Linked DNA regions of Homo sapiens: all the other regions are linked to region 5. The links are contacts of gene promoters, found by promoter capture Hi-C in blood cells and fetal thymus (Javierre and others, 2016). All regions are on one chromosome and are shown on one strand. Each heading gives the region's core, a stretch centred on a gene start or on the middle of the fragment in contact. The rest is flanking DNA. Distances are from core to core; before and after follow the strand shown. Region 1 has its middle 2.3 kb from the start of VAMP4. Region 2 overlaps PRRC2C (proline rich coiled-coil 2C). Region 3 overlaps TIPRL (TOR signaling pathway regulator). Region 4 overlaps MPC2 (mitochondrial pyruvate carrier 2). Region 5 holds the start of METTL18 (methyltransferase 18, RPL3 N3(tau)-histidine). Region 6 has its middle 11 kb from the start of TIPRL. Region 7 overlaps SFT2D2 (SFT2 domain containing 2).

What was found. The method cuts DNA at HindIII sites, captures the fragments that hold promoters and counts their contacts. A CHiCAGO score of 5 or more calls a contact.
Region 1: a contact is called between a fragment that was not itself captured here and the fragment with the promoter of METTL18 in region 5, in 1 of 17 cell types (non-activated CD4 T cells). The highest score is 6.6, in non-activated CD4 T cells.
Region 2: a fragment that was not itself captured here is called in contact with the fragment with the promoter of METTL18 in region 5 in 2 of 17 cell types (non-activated CD4 T cells and total CD4 T cells); the score reaches 5.4 in non-activated CD4 T cells.
Region 3: a contact is called between a fragment that was not itself captured here and the fragment with the promoter of METTL18 in region 5, in 1 of 17 cell types (naive CD8 T cells). The highest score is 5.3, in naive CD8 T cells.
Region 4: a fragment that was not itself captured here is called in contact with the fragment with the promoter of METTL18 in region 5 in 2 of 17 cell types (total CD8 T cells and naive CD8 T cells); the score reaches 5.2 in total CD8 T cells.
Region 6: a contact is called between a fragment that was not itself captured here and the fragment with the promoter of METTL18 in region 5, in 1 of 17 cell types (total CD8 T cells). The highest score is 5.8, in total CD8 T cells.
Region 7: a fragment that was not itself captured here is called in contact with the fragment with the promoter of METTL18 in region 5 in 3 of 17 cell types (naive CD8 T cells, total CD8 T cells and non-activated CD4 T cells); the score reaches 6.4 in naive CD8 T cells.

The regions. Positions count from the first base shown.
Region 1 is chr1:171,742,800-171,745,857 of GRCh38, forward strand. No RefSeq gene overlaps it. Among named protein-coding and RNA genes, the nearest start is that of VAMP4, 2.3 kb to the left of the region's middle. The HindIII fragment of the contact is 2,003 bases long and covers 537-2,539 here.
Region 2 is chr1:171,495,453-171,498,649 of GRCh38, forward strand. The region is part of intron 1 of PRRC2C (proline rich coiled-coil 2C); the gene reads left to right. Among named protein-coding and RNA genes, the nearest start is that of PRRC2C, 12 kb to the left of the region's middle. The HindIII fragment of the contact is 4,223 bases long and covers 1-3,197 here.
Region 3 is chr1:168,183,124-168,186,018 of GRCh38, forward strand. TIPRL (TOR signaling pathway regulator) reads left to right here. Exons shown (of 7, transcript NM_152902.5): 2 at 779-958; 3 at 1,656-1,755. Among named protein-coding and RNA genes, the nearest start is that of TIPRL, 5.6 kb to the left of the region's middle. The HindIII fragment of the contact is 4,693 bases long and covers 1-2,895 here.
Region 4 is chr1:167,928,750-167,931,895 of GRCh38, forward strand. The region is part of intron 2 of MPC2 (mitochondrial pyruvate carrier 2); the gene reads right to left. It also overlaps a transcript of DCAF6 not described here. Among named protein-coding and RNA genes, the nearest start is that of DCAF6, 6.4 kb to the right of the region's middle. The HindIII fragment of the contact is 4,869 bases long and covers 1-3,146 here.
Region 5 is chr1:169,793,560-169,796,435 of GRCh38, forward strand. It overlaps METTL18 (methyltransferase 18, RPL3 N3(tau)-histidine), which reads right to left and starts at 1,348. Exons shown (of 2, transcript NM_033418.4): 1 at 1,256-1,348; 2 at 1-338. The coding sequence starts at 136. It overlaps FIRRM (FIGNL1 interacting regulator of recombination and mitosis), which reads left to right and starts at 1,481. Exons shown (of 25, transcript NM_001320047.2): 1 at 1,481-1,556; 2 at 2,270-2,424. RefSeq lists an enhancer at 1,081-1,400. The HindIII fragment of the contact is 2,103 bases long and covers 695-2,797 here.
Region 6 is chr1:168,166,763-168,169,879 of GRCh38, forward strand. No RefSeq gene overlaps it. Among named protein-coding and RNA genes, the nearest start is that of TIPRL, 11 kb to the right of the region's middle. The HindIII fragment of the contact is 410 bases long and covers 1,345-1,754 here.
Region 7 is chr1:168,229,918-168,233,114 of GRCh38, forward strand. SFT2D2 (SFT2 domain containing 2) reads left to right here. Exons shown (of 8, transcript NM_199344.3): 2 at 1,597-1,683; 3 at 1,917-2,002. Among named protein-coding and RNA genes, the nearest start is that of SFT2D2, 5.5 kb to the left of the region's middle. The HindIII fragment of the contact is 3,164 bases long and covers 220-3,197 here.

The DNA of each region.
Region 1 (3,058 bases), core at 288-2,787, 1.9 Mb after region 5:
GCTGTCTACCAGAAACAATTCCTAATTTTGTTTTTCCGTTCTCTTATTTGTTTTATTATCCGTTCCTCCCACGCCCCAGCTGGATTATTTTACTCATTGAATCATATTCACTACACATCTTTTAAAATTAATACAGTATCTATGGGTCCTTTGTTGATACAGTATTTTAACTGTCTGAAATACTGTGCCAGGCACTTTCTAAAGACATAAAAATAAGAGGGGGTGTTCAAGAACAAGAGTAGACAAGAAAACAGCAGGAGGAAAGATCTGCGGACACTAAAGGAAAGGAAAGAATAGACACCCTCTTACCAAAAAGTTGTTCTTCTTTTGTTTGATGTTTATTTTTATGTAAAAATGTACTAACGAATTTGAAAGATGCCATGACTAAGGCAACGATGCTCCACTCTGATTCACTTGGAGTTGAATCACTTGGAAAGCTTTTAAAACTACGTAGGTGCCCACGTGCTACCTAGATTCTGATTTAAATGTTCTGAGATTTAGAAACAGCCGTTGAGTTGTCAGTTGAAGGTTCTGAAAGCTTAATGCTAAACTCAGTTGCCTGTGTTTATTCAGTCCAAGTTGCTGTCCAAGTCAGCAACTTGGACTGAAACGGCCCACTTAGAAGAGAAGCCTCTCATGGTTTGTATCCCTGTCTAGGTGTGATAGTGGGTCTACCCCCAGACTCCACAGGTAACCCTGACATTATTTTTTCTTCTACAGCTGATCTTTTTTTTTTTTTTGAGATGAAGTCTCACTTCTTCCCCCAGGCTGGAGTGCAGTGACACAATCATAGCGCACAGCAGCTCTGAACTCCTGAGCTAAAGTGATCTTCCTGCCTCTGCCTCCCAAGTAGCTGGGATTACAGGCATGAGCAGCTGTGCCCAGCACTTACAGTTGATTTTATGTCTGTATATTTGCATGTTATGGGCTATTTTCTGGCTTTGGTGCCTTAGCCAATTAGAGTTTAGCTAGTTATAGCCTCATCTCTTAGACAACTTAAGGTGTGGTCAGTGAGCTCTAACAGGCACGTCATTGCATAGCTTTTACAGATAATCCATTCTTTGGGTTTTTTTGTTTTTTAAACATAATTCTTTAGTCCTGCCAGTCATTTTGGAATGATCGCTTAGGAGAGGGGTAATGCAAGCCCCACCCTTAATCACCTGAACAAAGTCCCTTTGACTAACCCCAATATTTGTGAAACTTAGAAAATGTCATTTTACAGTTAACATGAATCAAATATACCAGTAAGCCTAAAAGATTATAATAGCACTGAGCTTAGAGTCAGAACTCCAAGCAACTTGAGTTACTTATTTCCTCCATTTTCTTTTTAGTGAGCTTCAGTTATTCAGATGTTAGTCCTCTAATTTTCTTTTCCCCTTTTTCAACATGACACCTTCATCCTTAAGAGGGCCTGCTGTCCTCCTAGCTAGAGAATCAGCGTTTTGCTGTCTTTCAGGACTAAATCTCTGGGTTTTTGATGGGATAGCAAAGGGAATCTCAGCATCTGATTCATTCTTAAACAGACTTTATACCATTCCGCCTGTATTTATAGCTCACATCATGCTCTCTTCAGCTTTACGTGGTGTTTCCAATTCCTGAGCCTTATACAGGGTTTCACTGTGTGTATCAGGTTGCTTCATGGCCTGCTTGGGATTCCTACTTTTCAAGTCTGCTAAGGCAATTGCATCTTGATTCATCTCCCTTCTAGCTTTCAATATTTTGTTGCTAAATGTTCAACATTACTTAAAATGTAAAAGTGAACAAGGAAATACCATTTTTCATCTATCAGTGACTGAGAAAGAAGGAGTTGAGCAGAAGATCTGCAATCCAGTCTCTCCCTTCGTAGGGAAATACTCTCAGGAAAGCAAGGTTAAAGCAAGCAAAAAAGCATGTGATTTTTATAAAATATAAAGTATATACTAATTACAGACCTCCTGGCAAACAAACTAATGGCATTTGCTAGCAAGAGAGTCCATATTTACGGAATTCCTCTAACAGGATGTCCCAGGGCTGGGATTGTTTATGGTAAACACATTAAGAATCGATGTGGTAATTCCAGCACTTTGGGAGGCTGAGGCAGGTGGATCACTTGAGGTCAGGAGTTACCAGCCTGGCCAACATGGCAAAACCCCGTCTCTACCAAAACTACAAAAATTAGCTGAGTGTGGTGGTGTACACTTGTAACACCAGCTACTCAGGAGGCTGAGGCAGAAGAATAGCTTGCACTGGAGATGCGGAGGTTGCAGTGAGCAGAGATCGCGCCACCGCCCTCCATCCTGGTCAACAGAATGAGACTCCCTCTCACAAAACAAAAAAGAATCAATGCGGATTTCAGGGGTATGATTAACTGGAAAATACCGCGGAAGTTATGTAACGTAGCATAAAATGGAAGTGTTTTGTAACTGATTTGGCTCCTTCTGTGTAAGTGGGGTGACTGTACACTTGATTTAGAAACCACATCTACTGTCCTGGGCCAGGATGCATCCAAAGCAAGAAGAAAGGACCTGGGGATTACTGGTATCCTTGAAACTATTAGTAAAGCTTGATACTGAGTAAAATCTCTGATTTGAGCCTGATTTGACAGTTTGATCTTTTGTGTTAGCTCAATAGCAAAAATAAAAAAAATTTGATACTACAATATTGGGTGTGTGTATGTGTGGTATGGGAGCAGCGTGGGAGGAACAAGCATTCTTAAACAGTAAGAGTATAAAAATTGGTGCATTTTTAAAAATTTCATGGTAATTATATGTATCAAAATTTTATATGAAGTTCTTTTTGATCTAATAATTTTACTTCTAAAATTTATCCCATGGGTATACAGGTTGTATATAAAAGTATTCTATAAAAATATCTGTTACAGGATTTTTGTAACAGAGTGAAAAAAAAAACTCTAAATGTTCAGCAATAGGAAATTGCTGAAATGAGTCATAGTCTAGCCATTCAATAGAATAGTATGCAGCCATTAAAATGAACTAGATAGATCTATATGTGCTGACATGGAATACCTCTATGATGCTATAAGGTGAGAAAAGTAAGGTGCAAAATAGTGTGTAGACTC
Region 2 (3,197 bases), core at 302-2,801, 1.7 Mb after region 5:
TTGACATGGAAAAGGACAGGGTCCAACATATCCAGGCCAAATTATTTCATATTGACCACATTCTTTTAAATATAAAATGATTTTCTACTTCAAACATTGTGTGATTCTCATTTGTATTAAGTTTATTTAAGGAGAAGTATGTAAATGACTAGTACTTTCAGTAGTCTTAAAAAATCAAGTGGATTGAGGGAAGGAAGTGACTAAATTTTTTTAAGGTTTATATTTTGTGGATGCTGATTCACTTGGAACTAGGAGTGTGGTGAATATTTGGGCTTTTTTATTTTAAATGGGCAATTTAGTTAAAATTTGAGTGATAAAATTCTGGTTTTTGAAGTTAATGCATCAGTCTCCCCTCATCATAGTTCAGGCTGCCATAACAAAATAGTATAGACTGGATGGCTTAAAAAACAGAAATTTATTTCTGACAGTTTTGGAGGCTGGAAGTCTGAGATCAGGGTGCCAGCATAGTAGTTCTGGTGAGGGCTCTTCCTAGCTTGCACACAGCCACCTTCTGACTGTATTCTCTAATGGAGAAGAGAGCAAGCTCTGGTATCTCTTTTTATAAGGACACTAATCCCCTCATGGCCCGTACAACCTCATCTAAATCTAATTACCTCACCAAGGCCCCATCTCCAAATATCAGCCCAGGGGATTTAGGGATTCAACATATGAATGTCAGGGGGGCACCCATCAGTCCATCAGCACCCCTGCCCCCTTTACGATTTTTAGAGCTTTGATTTTTGTGCCTTTTTTTTTTTTTTTTTTTTTTTTGCAGGGTCTCCCCCTGTTGCCCTGGCTGGAGTACAGTGGTGCTATCTTGGCTCACTACAGCCTCTGCCTCCCGGGTGCAAGCGATTCTCTTGCCTCAGCCTCCCTAGTAGCTGAGACTACAGGTGCACGCCACCACACCCAGCTAATTTTTGTATTTTTAGTAGAGATGGTATTTTGCCATGTTGGCCAGGCTGGTCTGGAAGTCCTGACCTCAAGTGATCCACCTGCCTTGGCCTCCCAGAGTGCTAGGATTACAGATGTGAGCCACTGCGCCTGGCCTGATTCTTGTTTTTTACAAGTTACAAAAATAATACAAAGAATTACCATATTCCTTCATTCAGATTCCCCACTTGTTAATATTTTACCATATTTACTTTATTATTTTCTGTATAGTATGCACATAGGCACACACATGCACTCTGTGCTTGGTTTTTAATGGCTGCTGTCTAAACCCTGTCATCACCAGAAACTTTAAATTTATTTCACAAGCTCTTATTCCTTACTTGTATTACAAAATGACATTTCTAGCAGCAAATCGATACATTTGGGGCGTGTGTGTGTGTGTGTGTGTGTGTGTGTGTGTGTGTGTTTTGTTTTGACAAGGTCTCACTCTGTTACCCAGGCTAGAGTGCAGTGGTGCAATCATTGGCTCACTGTAGCCTCAACCTCCCAGGCTCAAGCGATCCTCCTGCTTCAATCTCCTGGTTGGGACCACACGCATGTGCCACCACACCTGGCTATTTTTTTGGTAGAGACAAGGTCTCTCCATGTTGCTCAGGCTGGTCTCAAACTCCATTGCTCAAGCTATCCTCCCACCTCTGCCTCCCAGAGTGCTGGGATTACAAGCATGAGCCACCATGCCCCACCAATACATTTGTTAATAGAGATGTTGCTATGTTTTGTTGCTATTGTGTTTTATCTTTGATATCTTATTCTATATTGTAATGCAGTATGTTTGATAATGAAAACATGAATCATTTAGGGTCTCTTAAGTGACATTTATTGTTTTATATTTCAGTTTGTTAATTTCTCAAAATGAAAGTTCAATCCTGATTTTTTAAATAATGAGATTATGTTGGGCACTGGCTTTGAAGTCAGCCTGGATTTAATCTTGACTCTACCACTTTCCAGCTCTGTGTGTTTTGAGCAAATTACTTTACTTCTCTAAGATTGCTTCTTCATTGGTAATTTTCAGTGATTTAGGCTTTAAGCCCTTCTTAGTCCTAATCTGGTTTTTATTTTTATTTTTATTTATTTATTTTGAGACAGGGTCTTACTCTGTCTATTGCCGAGGCTGTAATACAGTGGCACAGTCATGGCTCACTGTAGCCTCAACCTCCTAGGCTCAAGCGATCCTTCTGTCTCAGTCTCCTGAGCATCTGGGAGACAGGCATGTGCCACCAGGCCTGGCTAAATTTTATTTTTTGTAGAGATGAGGTCTCACCATGTTACCCAGATTGGTCTTGAACTCCTGGGCTCAAGTGGTCCTCCCACCTTCGCCTTTCAAAGTGCTGGTATTACAGGTGTAAGCCACTGCGCGTGGCCCTAATCGGGTATTTTTACGTTATACTATATCTTTGGAGCTCAGATTTTGGTGGGGCAGTGGGGGGATACAAGGTCTCCTTTTGTCCCCCAGGCTGGAGTGCAGTGGCACAATCATGGCTCACTGTAGCCTCAACCTCCTAGGCTCCAGTGAGCCTCCCATCTTGGCCTGCCAAGTAGCTGGGACTACAGGCATGAGCCACCATACCCAGCTAATTTTTTTTTTTTTTTTTTTTTTTTAAGAAAAGACAAAGTCTTGCTGTGTTGCCCAGGCTGGTCTTGAACTCCTGAGCTCAAGCCATCCTTCCGCCTCGGCTTCCGAAATTCCTGGAATTACAGGCATGAGCCACTATGCCCTGCCAATAATTACTATTTTATTGCTAGAGCTTTTAGTCAACCTTAACTGAAATCACCAGTCCTTTCTGCTCTCCTCCTCATTCTCTTCTGACTTCCTCTCTTAGTCCATTCATGCTGCTGTAACAAAATGCCTGAGACTGGGTAACTTATAAATAACAGAAATTAATTTCTGTTGGTACTGAAGGCTGGAAAGTCCAAGATCAAGTTATCGACAGGCAGGATCTCCGCCTCCAAGATGGCACCTTGTTCATGTCCTCAGATGACAGAAGTGCATAGCTAGTTCCCTCCAGCCCTTTCATAAGGCACACATCACATCTGTGAGGGCAGAGCCCACATGGCCCAATCACCTCCTAAAGACCCCACCTCTTAAAAGTGTTGCATTGGGGGTTAAGTTTCAGCATGAAATTTGGAAGAAACATAGGCATTCAAACCATTTTCTTTCACTGTCTGGATTAGACTTCAGTAAAACATTACTCCAGAAATTCTGGCAGTATCTTCATCCACCTTGCTTTTCTTTACTAGTTTAC
Region 3 (2,895 bases), core at 285-2,784, 1.6 Mb before region 5:
TTATTATAGTCTCTCTTTAAACATTTGTAATGGTTCCATAATATTTCATCATATGGATATACTTTGGTTTGCATAATCATTTGTTGCTTTATAATGAAACATTCAGAGTATTTCTTTTTCATGATTATAAGTAAAGCCATTATAAGTATTAATGTGTATAATATTTTTCTGTACTTGGAATTATTCTTTAGTACAGGTATTCTAAAACTGATACTTTGGGTCATAAGTGTGTAAATTATGTTAAATTCCTGTGATTTTTTTTTTTTTTTGCTTGATTGTTGCCCCAGGGTGAAATGTAAATTGACACAATCCTTCTGAAAGTCTGTGTAGGCAAGTGCTGAGTTCCCTCATCAGTGTCAGGTGCTTTTGCTTTTTTCATCACCACGTTTTGAAACTTTTAACAATTGAGAATTTTAATGGAAAAATTATTTTCCTACAAGAGACAGTATCTTTAATTGCTTTGCTATCTTTTCTTCATACCCTCATGATATATATTATAGTAATATCTGTGTGCTATATATTATAGTAGTATAATAAGCTATTATATTACGTATTTGTATATTTATCTTATTTAGCCCACTACTTAGTACAGTGCCATATGATGATGAAAGAATGGATGATGAAAGCATTTTATAGACCTTGCAAATATATCATATTGATTAAATCATGTGCTGTGTAACTCATTCAGCAAGTAGGAAGAATTCTGTTGGGATGGAAAAGAAACAAAAATGCCAACAGCGATATAAAATTATCTCACCCGACTTTTGGTTACGTATAGATTAGCCGATGAATTACATATGCCATCTCTCCCTGAAATGATGTTTGGAGACAACGTTTTAAGAATCCAGCATGGGTCTGGCTTTGGAATTGAGTTCAATGCTACAGATGCGTTAAGATGTGTAAACAACTACCAAGGAATGCTTAAAGTGGCCTGTGCTGAAGAGTGGCAAGAAAGCAGGTGAGAATCCGGTCAATTAGGTTAAACAAAAAAGGTAATTAGGTTAAACAAAAGAGAAAAGACTTGAAAAAATATTCAGTAATGATACGTGTGTGTTGTTAGAATGAAGGGCTGGTATTATTAAACTTGAGAGTTGTATCATTCTAGAATTCGTTTTTCTCAGACATAAAAATGGAAGTTAATTACCCCACTGCTTGAATACTTGTTAAAGTGAATTACAACTGAGCTGAGCTATGTACGTTTTCGATTTTTCAGTGTTCCTTACTGAAGAGGCAGTAGGCTATACTTAATGTTCCTGTTTTTAAGAAAAAATGTTTACTTATGATATGCTTAATAAATACCCTATTTGAGAAGCATTGAAATTAAGACAACATGTTTTTCTTTGATAGTCAAATCAGCAATTATTTACTTTGTGCCTAATATGTACTAAGTACCTTAGATGATACAAATAAGTATAAACCTTTAAACCATGTCCTCAGGCTGTATACAGACTAATTGAAAAGACTACATCAGTACATGACAAGTTAAATAATAAATGCAGAAAAACTGTAAGAAAAACCTTGTACTGGTGAATTATAACAAGTGTATATATTTAATAGGATATGTTATTATAGAATATAATTTGATGTGATATATAAATACAGATAATCTCTATTCTGCATCACTGAATCTGATCCTTCTCATTTTGGTATTTGAGGACGGAGGGTGAACACTCCAAAGAGGTTATTAAACCATATGATTGGACCTATACAACAGATTATAAGGGAACCTTACTTGGAGAATCTCTTAAGTTAAAGGTAAATCTTACTTTTTTCTTTCATGAGTCATTGATTGTCTTGGACAGTCTGAGCATTAGAACTTTCTAGTAACGGGTTATTTTTTGCAACTATTTTTATCGTCCTTGTTTTCTGTTGTGGCATTCCTCAGAACCTAATGTGAGGGGGTTTTGCTTGTTGACTTATCAGTAGAAAATAAAAGACGGCATTAGTGGAAAAATTTATTTTTAAAAGTGTAGTTGGTGGCAACGGCAGACGGCCTTGTTGTTATCATTATCACTATCAAGAAACATTAAAATGTGTTTCGGGCCTTGGTAATGTATTACATGATTTAGACAGAACCTGCTAGCTTGTAGCTCACAAGTTTATAGATGAACAAATATATGAGCAAAAAGAACTTCTGGTTAGACAAAGTAGGTTTATGCCCTGTCTGCCCTGAGTATGAACCTGAAATGACTTTAGGAAGTTACTTAATTTGAGTCTCAGTTTTATCAATAAATTGGGTAAACAGAAATATCTACCTCAAAGCAGAGTTTTGATGTGAAATAATTTATGGGAAGCTCTCAATAAATTCTAAAGCTCTATATTAGTATTAAGTCCTGTGTGTGTAAGCCCTGCTTGAGAAGAGATTGGGGCCAGGCGCAGTGGCTCACGCCTGTAATCCCAGCACTTTGAGAGGCCGAGGCAGGCAGATCACGAGGTCAGGAGCTCGAGACTAGCCTGACCAACATGGTGAAACCCCTTGTCTATTAAAAAAAAAAAATTAGCTGGGTGTGGTGGCGCACACCTGTAATACCAGCTACTCAGGAGGCTGAGGGAGGAGAATTGCTTGAACCCGGGAGGTGGAGGTTGCAGTGGGCCAAGATCGCGCCACTGCACTCCAGCCTGGGTGACAGAGTGAGACTCTGTCTCAAAAAAAAAAAAAAAGAAGAGATTCGGCCAGGTGCAGTGGCTCACGCCTGTAATCCCAGCACTTTGGGAGGCCAAAGTGGGTGGATCATGAAGTCAGGAGTTCAACACCAGCCTGGTCAACATGGTGAAACCCCATCTCTACTAAAAATACAAAATTTAGCCAGGCATGGTGGAGCATGCCTGTAGTCCCAGCTACTCGGGAGGCTGAGGCAGGAGAATTGCTTGAACCCGGGAGGCAGAGGTTGCAGT
Region 4 (3,146 bases), core at 74-2,573, 1.9 Mb before region 5:
GATTATAATACCTTAATATTAGAATAAGCAGAAGTATAAACTAACAGATACCTGGCTAACATCCATTATGATAAATGAAATAACTTGATTAGGTGGAAAATTTGAACTGCTGAAAATATACTGAAGAAAAATCTCCTCATAAGACATTAATTTATAGCCCAAGATGAAAGAAATTGTCCACATCAAACATACTATATATTCTTTTAGAAAAAGAATTAATACATTTTCATCTTGTTTCTTTGAACAGTACTACTGGATGTTGAAGAAGGCCTCCAATGCTGACAATTTAGAAACATTAAACAAGTATTTAAAATGTCTATACATTTAGGCCGGGCGTGGTGGCTCATGCCTGTAATCCCAGCCGTTTGGGAGGCGGAGGTGGGCGGATCACCAGAGGTGGGGAGTTTGAGACTAGCCTGACCAACATGGAGAAACCCCATCTCTACTAAAAATACAAAATTAGCCGGGCGTGGTGGTGCATGCCTGTAATCCCAGCTACTTGGGAAGGTTGAGGCAGGGGAATCGCTAGAACCCAGGAGGCAGAGGTTGCAGTGAGCCGAGATTGCACCATTGCACTCCAGCCTGGGCAATAAGAGCGAAACTCCGTCTCGAAAAAAGAAAAAAAAAAGTCTACACATTTTAAACTATGAACTATGTTCAAGAATGAAAAATACTGACTATAAGTTATTTTGTGTTTTATTGCCTTATTTTTAAAGTGAAACTCATGTTTTTAAATTCTAACTTTTCATAGAATTTGAGAAATTCTACAAGTGAATATCATAAGCAAATAATAACAGACATAAATTTTCAAATAAACAAATTTAGTTGCCTTGAACTTCAATGAACCTATTAATAAACTGACATAAACTTACTTCCTAATTTCCTTATTTGAGAGAAATTACTGTTAATAAAATATTATATGAATCCTACCCAGAAAGTAGGCCACCTATCGTATATATGATTCCCTCCCTAAGTAAAGACTAACTTTTTGGAACAGAATAGGTAATTTTTACTCTCAAGCACATATACACACTTACAAATACTGGATTGAGGTATTCACTATATCCCTCTGTGAAAAATAAAGTTTCTTACTGAATGCTAAGAGGTCATAAAATCACTACATTTCCCTACCTCTTCCCATCCCTTTCATGCCACTCCTTTATGGTTTGTTACTTTTTAACACCCCTCTTAATTCCTTACATTACACAAGTTCACCTGTTTGCTATCATGTGACAAACTAGATACAAATCCTTAGAATATGTAAAGGTTAATCTTTGACATGGATACTGACGGCCAAAAAATCATTCATTTTTATTTGTGCCAAAGCTAGTTCTGATTTAACACTAAGAACATGACTAAGCTACCATTTTAGAGCCATATAATTTTAATATTTTCCACAATGCCTTGGAAATAGCTATCACTAAAATAGTACCCAAAACATCATGGGTAGATAATGTTTTTAAAAATGTTGACTGAAAATACACTTTGGTTTGAAATTCCAGAGTAAAGAACAGGTAAAGAGACTAAAATAGCTAAGATGCATTGTAGGGATGATACGTTTTAAATTTACTTATTTCTTCAGGTACAAAGAATCAGTTACTTTTAGATTTAGAAAGACTGTTGAAATCATCTACTGTAGGCACTCATAAATCAGGCAAATGAGGCCCAGTAAACAAATTACTTGTTTAAAATAAATAATCCAACAAGGATAAAAAACTAGATCCCTAAATCCTAATCTAACAATAATTATATGACTTTCCCCAATGAAATCTGAGTTTCCTGAAGGTTCTGAATGTAAGAAAAGTCCTAAGAGAATACCAAATTATAGATTATTAGCTGGAAAAGACTTTAAGGAAAGTCCAAGCTCCCTCATTTTTATAAATGAAAAAGATGAGGCACTTACAAGTTAAGTAATTTGTCTTACACTCAGGAGAGTTCTGGATAGAGCAACGACTAGAACACAGTTTCTTTGATCCTAGTCCTCTTTCTACTGTACCATACAGCACTTTAAACATATTTCATTCTCTGTTATAAGCAAAATTAATATTTTTACATGACCTGGAAATGATAAACTATTTATAGCTTAGGGCTTTCTTCTCCTTTAGCACATCTGCATAAACAGTTCTAATTTCTTAAAGTTAGTTTAAAAGCAGGATAGCACACAAAAAATATGTTAAGTGTTGAACAACTGCATCAAGGATGATAATCTGCTCTGTTGCCCAGGCTGGATTGAGTGCAGTGGCACGATCTTGGCTCACTGCAACCTCCATCTTCTGGGTTCAAGCAATTCTCCTGCCTCACCCTCCAGAGTAGCTGGGATTACAGGTGTGCACCACCATGCCCAGCTAAATTTCGTATTTTTAGTAGAGACAGGGTATCACCATGTTGGCCAGGCTGGTCTCGAACTCCTGATTTCAGGTGATCCACACGCCTCGGCCTCCCAAAGTGCTGGGATTACAGGTGTGAGCTACCGCGCCCAGCTGATATTCCTTTTTATGAATTCTTCTGAGAATACAAACTCTGTGTGGGTGGGTTTCGTTATTTTATCCACTGCTTTATCCTGAGTGCCAGAACAGTGTCTAATATACAATAGGCCCTCAATAAATATTGAATAATTCAACCTTCTTGGTAGCTGATTGTTTGAAGATATTCTATTTTTCACCAATATTTTACAATTGTATTTGAAATTCTAATCTTACATCTATTTTAGTTATCTCTTAACTTTAAATAAGTTATTACTTTAAAAAATAATATATGTATATTTAGTGTATTTAAACTTAATATATTAAATATACACTTAAGAATATATATGGACATATATTAATATCTTAGACTGGCATTAAGATTCTTCACTGACAATCTGTGGCAACAAAATAAGTTCTAACAGAGATGCTAAAGAACTGTGTAATTCAAACTATGTAGGTACGTACACTCATTATTTGATCCATATTAGATTTTATTTACATATAATAGAACAATATATATTTGCACTAAGTTGTATTTAACCATCTATTGTAACATCAATTCTCTTAGCATTGAATATAAAATTTTTATGATACAGATATTTCCTTATAAACACTGATAACATTGGTTCATTTAGTTTATTTTTATTTAAAAAGAAATATCCTCTAGGTCTTTAAAATTAA
Region 5 (2,876 bases), core at 98-2,597:
TGTCCCTCTCTTCTCCTTTTTGACTTTCTGAGACTGACAGCTCTTTTGAGGAATCCAGGGTCAAAGCTCCATCTCTAATGGGTGTTAATTCATTTTCCAGATGGTCTTCTATAGTGAAATTAAACTGAAAGGTCATCCTCTTATTAAATGCACACAATCTTTAAATTCAGATTCTTCAACTTCTGGATAGAATTTGATGATACACACAAATCTGCCTCAATTATTCAATTAGTTTTGTTGGGCCCAATTTCTCTTTAGCAGCTTATACATGGTAACAAATATTTAGAGATATTTCCAAATGACTTTTTAGACGTCTTTGGTCCTCTTTCCAAGCAGCTCTGGAAAGAAAAAAAAAAAAAAAAGAAAGAAAATGATGATTAAAGCAAAATGGCACATTTCACTAAAGTGTAATATTAAACAGCCACCCCCACCCCTCCCTGTCCCACCATACAGCTGCTTTTTCTTAAAAAGTTGTGGGGAAGAGAGAGAGATAAGAGATTTGGACACTCATACACACCTTAAGGGTTCCAAAGTGGGAGAAGAAAATCAACTATAAAAACAAACAGAAGAACAACAGCAACCACCACCACTACCACCTGGACAAACATAAAGTCCAAGATATTCAGACAGGACAGCCTAGCTACTTGCTGTCTTTCAGCTGTCTTGATTTGTGTCCAACCATATTCACCCCCTAAGCTTCCAGAATAACTTCACTTCTGTCTTTTACAGAAGAGGTGCAGTATTTTATTTTGGTAAGTCAGCGTCCCTTTAAAAACATGCATAGGTATGGCCTGGTGTGTGTAAATTCATCCAAGACTTCACTCCAAACATTTAGTCGAGAACAGCAGCCCTAAGTGTATAGAAGTGGGGGTAATTTGGCAATAATTAGTAAAGACTAATTCGGTGGCAGAGCAAACGCAAACTAGGGCACTGCAGTAGTTTGGAGAGACCTGTAGAAATAAGAAGCAACTTTATTGAGAATCTTCTATCTACTGCGCTAGACACTATACCATCTGCCTCAATTTTCACAGTTCTGGCAAGTGGGATCTTTGTTCCCTTTATACAAGATTTACAATTTGGGGGAGAGGCGGGTCACCCAGTCCCGCGGCTAGGAACGCGCCTCTTTCCTCTCCCATCACGCTGCAAGGCTTGGAGTCACTTCCGGCTGCAGGTCCCGGAACAAATCCGACCCCAGAAGTGGGGACTTCTGGCCCTCACCTCCCCATTTGAATGTAATGTTTACAGTGATCCAGACCTGGGGATGCTTGCTTCCCGACGTGTCCTGGGATCGCGCTTCTGAAAAAGCTCACCTCACAACGCCTCCTCCGGACCTAAATCGCGCACCAGTGAGTCGAGTCCTCCAGGGGCTAGAGAAGCCCGACTTTCTTTCCGGCCTTGAGGGACCCGGGCTCACCAAGAAACCAGCCGCCCTCCTCTCTATGGTTTTGGAGCCGGCGGAGAGCGCGCAAGGGTTGGCGGGACTGCGAGTTTCCGGTCTGGGCTTTGGCGGGTCTGGTTTGAAGCTCTCCTGTTTGACGAAAGTATGTCTCAGGAAGGTGCGGTCCCAGCTAGCGCGGTTCCCCTGGAAGAATTAAGTAGCTGGCCAGAGGAGCTATGCCGCCGGGAACTGCCGTCCGTCCTGCCCCGACTCCTCATATCCTTCCTTGGTTGTCACTTCTACCTAGAGAAGGGTGTGGGCGGGTCGCGAACCTTTCTCTTCTGTCCCTTCAGACCCACCGCCAGGCTGGGTTATATTACCGCGGCCTGAACCCCCTCTTTTCTTTGTCAGTGAGTGGGATGAAAAGTGAGGGACTGGAGGGGAAGCGACAACCGTGGTAGATTTAAGTAAGGCTTTGGCCCTGGAAAGCCTCGCGGACGTGTTCTGACCCAAGGTTTTAGCAGTGGATGTGGCGTTTTCTTCCATTCCTTCTTTCAGTTTTTCTGTACTCGTTGCTTGCAATTAAGTGTAAATACTTTTGCTAGTGGATAATGGGGGAGGCAAGGACTGAGACCTGCGGTATGACGATAGCTCTGGCTCTTAATAGTTTGAGGTAAAGCGAGATACTCTGAGCTTTTGTCTCCCGTAAAAAGGGTGGTGAATATGAATAAGGGCTTTCTTAGCGTTATAAGAATTAAAGGGCATAGTTCTGTGGTGTGAAATCTTTAAAAGATGTTCAGTAAATAAAAATGATTTTCCTCCTTCCCCTCTCAGACCTCTTTTTCTTCTTTCTTTCTTTTTTTTTGACAAGTTCTCACTCCTCTCACCCAGGCTGGAGTCTTTCTGAAAGAGTTCTTCCGCTTGTTGTTGGCTTTCAACTGTTGGATTTGAGGCGCTTAGCGCCTTCTTCGTCCGGGTGCAGCACATTCTTGATTGGTCTCATGCCTTTGTGGTTGTAAATGTGCCTGGAATCCTAGCCTTTCATGGTAAACCATATGTATATGTATCTTTTTCACAACATTTGAGCCCAGCTTTATACAATTACACTCAAAAGAAAAAAAGTAACCTTCACTTGAGAGAATCTCAATACTGCACAAATATTGTGCAGCTAAAGCCCTATGTAATCACATAGAAGTCATTCACCTAGGCATTAGCAAAATCTCAGAAGGTGCCAAAGCCCCCTTTTTTAGTTTTTGTGTAGGTACAGAACTGCCGTCTTCAAGGAGTTTCAACTTGAAAACAAATAGCCACCCTCAAAACATTCAAAAACACTTAAACTGCGTGCATAATGTGTGTGAGACATGGTGTTAGGCTTTGGGAGAACAGAGACACGGAACGTGATTCCTCTTCTTCCCCACAAGCTTATAGAGAGACTTCATTAAGTTGAAAGTCAACATTCCCACCTAGCTTTGCACTTCAAACGACATATTCAAAAAAG
Region 6 (3,117 bases), core at 300-2,799, 1.6 Mb before region 5:
AGCCAAGATTTGAACCTAGGCAGCCTAACTCCATATCCCTGGTGCTTAGCCACTTAAATCCCTCCCCTATTGTATTAGTCATGGTTCTCTAGAGGGACAGAACTAATAGGATATATACACACACACACACACACACACACACACATATATGTGTGTGTGTGGGATATATATATATGCTGGGATATATAGATATATATGAATATATATGCTGGGATATATATATATCTATATATATCTCTAGAGAGATATATATATATATATATAGATATATATATAGGAGTTTATTAGGTATTAACTCACATGATCACAAGGTCCCACAATAGGCCATCTGCAAGCTGAGAAGCAAGGAGAGCCAGTCTGAGTCCCAAAACTGAGGAACTTGGAATCTGATGTTTGAGGGCAGGAAGCATCCAGCATGGGAGAAAGATGTAGGCTGGGAGGCTAGGCCGGTGTAGTCTTTCCACGTTTTTCTGCCCGCTTTATATTCTGCCCACCCAGATTAAGGGTGGGTTTGCCTTTCCCAGCCCACTGACTCAAATGTTAATCTCCCTTAGCAACACCCTCACAGACACACCCAGGGCAATACTTTGCATCCTTCAATCCAATCAAGTTGATACTCAGTATTAACCATCACACCTGTTTAGACTTTTCCCATTTCTTTTTTTTTTTTTTCTTTTTTGAGACGGAGTCTCACTCTGTCACCCAGGCTGGAGTGCAATGATGCAATCTCAGCTCACTGCAACCTCTGCCTGCCAGGTTCAAGTGATTCTCCTGTCTCAGCCTCCCAAGTAGCTTGGATTTTCTCCTGTCTTGGCCTCCCAAGTAGCTGGGATTACAGGCGCACACCACCGTGCCTAGCTAACTTTTGTATTTTTAGTAGAGATGGGGTTTTACCATGTTGGCCAGGCTGGTCTCAAACTCCTAACCTCAAGTGATCGGTCCGCCTCCACCTCCCAAATTGCTGGGATTACAGGAGTGAGCCACAGCCAACTTTTCCCATTTCAAGTGAAGAATCCACTTGCCAAAGCCTAATTTTTTCTTCTCTGCTCAGCTTGCTCTGATTGATCTCATCCCATGATAGCAATACCCCATTGGGACCTTTTCCTTGGGACCTTTCCTTCCCCTTCTTTCCCTTCCATTCCTTTCCCTATCAGTCATGGAACTCACACTGCAGTGATAGGCCTCTGCTTCCAGGCCCACAGCTAACTTCGGCAATAACAGCCTCCTGCTTTTGCTCACCAGGAGAGAGGCCTGACACCACTTGGGAATCCACTTAGATCTCAGCCCTCATCTTCCTTTATCCTCCCTCTACCAGCTCGTTCCTATCACCAGGGGTTGAACTTAAGCTTATGATTTCAGAAAGACTGTGTTTGCCCATTCAAATTCCTTGCATGTAAACTGCTTCAGTTTCTTTTACCCTTTTTCTCCTTCCCAAAATAAGCAGGGAAAAGAAAGAAAAATATTTTGACCATACAACATTGCTGGACAGAAAGAGCATGAATTCCTATTATAGTTCTGCTTGGTTTTGTTTTATTCTTTGTTTCCCTGGTAGCTATCTTAGAAATTTCTGGTTCACCTGCTTCATTTCTATCTTCAGAAATTAGGATGAAATAATTCCCGTAGTGATATTTTGCTCATCTCCTAAAGTTTTATAGCTTGGCATTTTGGTAACCTCAATTAAAGTACACACATACAAAAATCTATCCTGTACTAAAGTTTATTGCTATGAAAGACATTTTTAAATGTCTAATGCAAGCTTGTCCAACCCATGGCACTCAGGCCACATGTGGATGAGCCAGGATGGCTCTGAATGCAGCCCAACACAAATTCATAAACTTTCTTAAAACATTACATTATGAGACTTATGCACAGATTTTTTTTTTTTTTTTTGCTCATCAGCTATCATTAGTGTATTTTATGTGTGGCCCAAGACAATTCTTCTTCTAATGTGGCCCAGGGAAGTCAAAAGATTGGACACCCCTGGTCTAATGTCTTACAAGAAATTATCTAGTGATTTTCTCACAACCTTAAAAGTAACATTTGAATCAAGCTCTTTTATATGTTTATATTTTCCTGAGTACCCGAATGAATGCCCATTTACACTAAAACAACACCAGTTTTCTTTTTTTGTTTGTTTGAGACAGAGTCTTGCTCTGTCGCCCAGGCTGGAGCGCAGTGGCGCGATCTCAGCTCACACTACAAGCTCTCCGCCTCCTGGGTTCACGCCATTCTCCTGCCTCAGTCTCCCCAGTAGCTGGGACTACAGGCACCTGCCACCAACAACACCAGTTTTCTATAAAGTGGACACAGTTACTTCAATAGTTAACACTAATTATGGTAACATGATATAGTGCAGCTGTTTCCCTTTATAAATGATTCTCAAATAAACCTATTTACTCATGTTCCATTAGCTGGGTTTTTTTTTTAATTTTTGTATGAGACAGAGTCTCGCTCTGTTGCCCAGGCTGGAGTGCAGTGGCGCAATCCCGGCTCCCTGCAACCTCTGCCTCCAGGGTTCAAGCGATATTTGTGCCTCAGCCTCCGAAGTAGCTGGGACTATAGGCATGCACCACCACACCCGGCTAATTTTTTTTTTTTTTTTGTATTTTTAGTTGAAACGGGGTTTTGCCATGTTGGCCAGGCTGGTCTTGAACTCCTGACCTCAGGTGATCTGCCCACATTGGCCTCCCAAAGTGCTGGGATTACAGGCATGAGCCACTGCGACTGGCCCCATCAGCTCTTTTTGCCACTTTGCATGCCATACACTTAAATCTATCCTGACAATGTGTACATGTATTATATATATATATATATATATATATGTATATATATATACATATATATACATATATATATGACAGAGCATTAAAATGTTTATGTAATGAAAACTTTGCCAAAAAATAACATCAAAGACAAAAATCAATAGAAACAATTCTATTGATTTCCAAGATGATCCACTATAACCCAGCTGAGTGCTCTGAGAGAACTAATTACAGCATAAGCTGGGGACCACTATGACAATGGCCACATGGTGGGTGCTGATCCGCTCTCCAGACAGCTGAAAATTCACTTTCCTTGTCAATTCAAAGAAATGGTTTAGAAGATAAAGTAGAAGTG
Region 7 (3,197 bases), core at 552-3,051, 1.6 Mb before region 5:
CCTCAGCGTAAAACCAGGTGGCTCATCTGTCAGATCTTAACACTGGGCCCCTGCTGTCTGTTATCATCCCTAATTTGTGCCTTCTGTGCAGGGTCATGAGCCCAGTTCCATATATATGAATGTATAACCTGACCTAAATACCTTTCTCCTGAGTGGAGAGTAAGGTAGTCTTTGGCAATACGTGCCACACCTGAGGGGAGCCTCTCATCCTTCTTTTCAAGCTTCTGGTTTGACGGGAACTCTGGAGACAGGGTTGAAAACAGATCCCTGAGCTGGGGGTAGTCAAGGCTGACGGAGTTGCCAGTCTAATGACTCTTGACTTTCTGCCACTACCTACCTTCTTCCATCAGCTGGGTGGAAATATAGTAGGAAACTTTGACCACATTGCTAGATGGAGACTATGCTGGCCATACAAGGTGAGCCCTGTGTGAATATACATGGCCTAGCTGCCCTGTGTGGTGTTGGTCTCTTACGGCAGCTGTCTTTGTCCAGCTTGGAACAACTGTTCCCACTTGCATCAGGTGGACAGACTGGTAGGGTCACCAGTGCAAAAACTTTGATGTCATTTTTTTCCGAGACAGAGTTACACTCTTGTTGCCCAGGCTGGAGTACAATGTATGATCTCGGCTCACTGCAACCTCCACCTCCCAGGTTCAAGCAATTCTCCTGCCTCAGCCTTCCAAGTAGCAGGGATTACAGGCATGCACCACCACACCTGGCTAATTTTTTGTATTTTTAGTAGAGACAAGGTTTCGCCATGTTGGTCAGGCTGGTCTCGAACTCCTGACCTCAGGTGATGCGCCCACCTTGGTCTCCCAAGGTGCTGGGATTACAGGCATGAGCCACTGTGCCTGGCTGTTGTCATTTTTGACATGGGAAAAGAACCACTGGGAGCTACTCACAGGCTCTCCTGTTTCAGTAGTGTTTTTGGAACTCCTGGCTTCCCCTGAACTTTGCTCCAGGGAGGGATTAATCATGATGGCAAAGACTCAGGATGTAACAGGACAGTAATTAATTAACCAGGATCTGTCTCCCACTTGGATGAGTTGGCTGATGCCAGCATCCTGTAAGTACAATATCTGAACCAAGAGTGAATAATGTGGGTGAGAGTTGATGTAGGAGACGATGACCAGTGGAGCAGCTGCTTGAGTGCCGTCCCCTCATCTTTTCCTTATTTCCTGGGACCCTGCCTGGTGGAGGATCCCAGGTGGACTTGTGAGTCCCTGGTGGACGCATGCCTTTCCAGGTGTGGTCTTCATCCTGCCTGGGTTGTAGGAAGGCTCTGGGCTACTCTAGGATTGGCTGTCTTGCCTTCCTGTTCTTGAAATGGGTTGTGCTTGAGGCAAGGAGTTTCTACCTCTGAAGATGTTCAGCTGGAGGCACAGCTGTCAGCTGCTAGAGAGGAGATTCATGTCTGCATAATAACTTTACAGCTCTGATAAAGTCTGGATTTGATGACTTACATCGCCTGAGTGTGTAGGATTCTGTGCTCCTTGCCTTCCCTAATACAACTTAACACTTTCTAGATTTAGTTATGTGCTTGCTTTGTTTTTAGTAAATGTGTGTGTATATGTATTTTTTTTTTTTCAATTTTAGGTTGTTGAGGCATCTTCATTAAGCTGGAGTACCAGGATAAAAGGCTTCATTGCGTGTTTTGCTATAGGAATTCTCTGCTCACTGCTGGTAAGATTTCCCTTCCTCCTCTGTCTTTTCCTTCTACCTGTCTTTGCTATATATTCCCCCTTTTGTCCACCTCCTTTCCCCTTTTGCCCTTCACTAAAATGCATGGATGAGAGGAGAGGGGAATAAGGGAGGTGGGGAGGGAAACGGACTCCTCAGGGCTTCCTCTGGGAGCTCTGCTTGTGTGGCCGGGTGGGAGGGTTGCTCATGTGCAAACACTGTACTTTAAATTCCAGGGTACTGTTCTGCTGTGGGTGCCCAGGAAGGGACTACACCTCTTCGCAGTGTTTTATACCTTTGGTAATATCGCATCAATTGGGAGGTAACTGTTTTTTAAAAATCCAATTTTAGCCAATCATTAGATGGGAAAATGGATGTTGGTTGCCCTTGAGGGAGGTGAAAGAGGAGGCTCCAGTAGTTGTAAGGAATTTGGAGAGAAGTAGTTAGAATATCTCACATTCATATCTTATTATTTGAAAACATTTTATATCTTAGTTTGAAACACCTGGGAGAAAGCAGCAAATGTTTTGCCATCGTGATTTTACATGTACAGAAACTGCGACACAAAGCAGTTCAGTGATTTCTCCAGGGTTTACAACCCAGTCCTCCTGCTTGCTGTATTCTTACTGCTGTCAGAGATTGAGTTGATGGTTTTCAAAGGGCTCATCACTCCAGTGGCCATAAGGGAAACTGGTTTTTATTTAGTGTCAGACCTTCCCAGACCTGAGTAGCAGCTCATGTGGGCAGGGCATCTGAGCGCTTCCTGGAGGTGGGCAGCCCATTCTGCATGTTGTGGATGCACACATTTTCCAGGTCAAGCTCATTCACACTGATGCTTCAGTCACACTGGTGCCAACAACTCCACCCTCTCCAACTGGGAGCACTGGCCTGGCCTCTACCTGAATGACCTGCAGGAACCTGAGCTCAGTCATCTTGTTTCCCCCTTTTCCCTTCCCTTGTGTCTCTGTAAATGGCTTCAGAGTCCTGGGGGTCCAAGTCTCCCCTCCATGATTCCTCACCAGGGCTTGATGTAACCCTGTCTTACTGGCTCCTTCCTCTTTGTCCCCATGGCTGTTTGTGCTTCACTGACTGACTTGCATGCTCAATGGGTAAGCATTGATCACACTCTGTGCTGGGCTCAGAGGATACAAAGACAAGTCCAGTTTGGTCCCTGCCAGGCAGACAGACATATAACTCATGATATAACAAGATATGGAAAGAAATTCTCAAGGAGGGGCAGCCGACACGACCTGAGTCAGGGAGGGCTTCCTAGAGAAGGTGATATCTGAGCTGGCCTTAGCTTTGGCCTGTTATCACCCTTACCTGAGCAAGATGCATCTGCTTGGTCTCTCTGTCTCCTCCATTGCCCCTCTCAAGGCCATTTTCCACTGAGCTGTAGAGCCATTCGTTTATAGCCCTGCTTAGCCCCCTCAAGTGGCCCCCTGTTTTGTCTGTACAAATGAAGTCCAAATTCCTCAGCACGCATACAGTCAAGCGTCTTTGAGATCTGGCTTCAC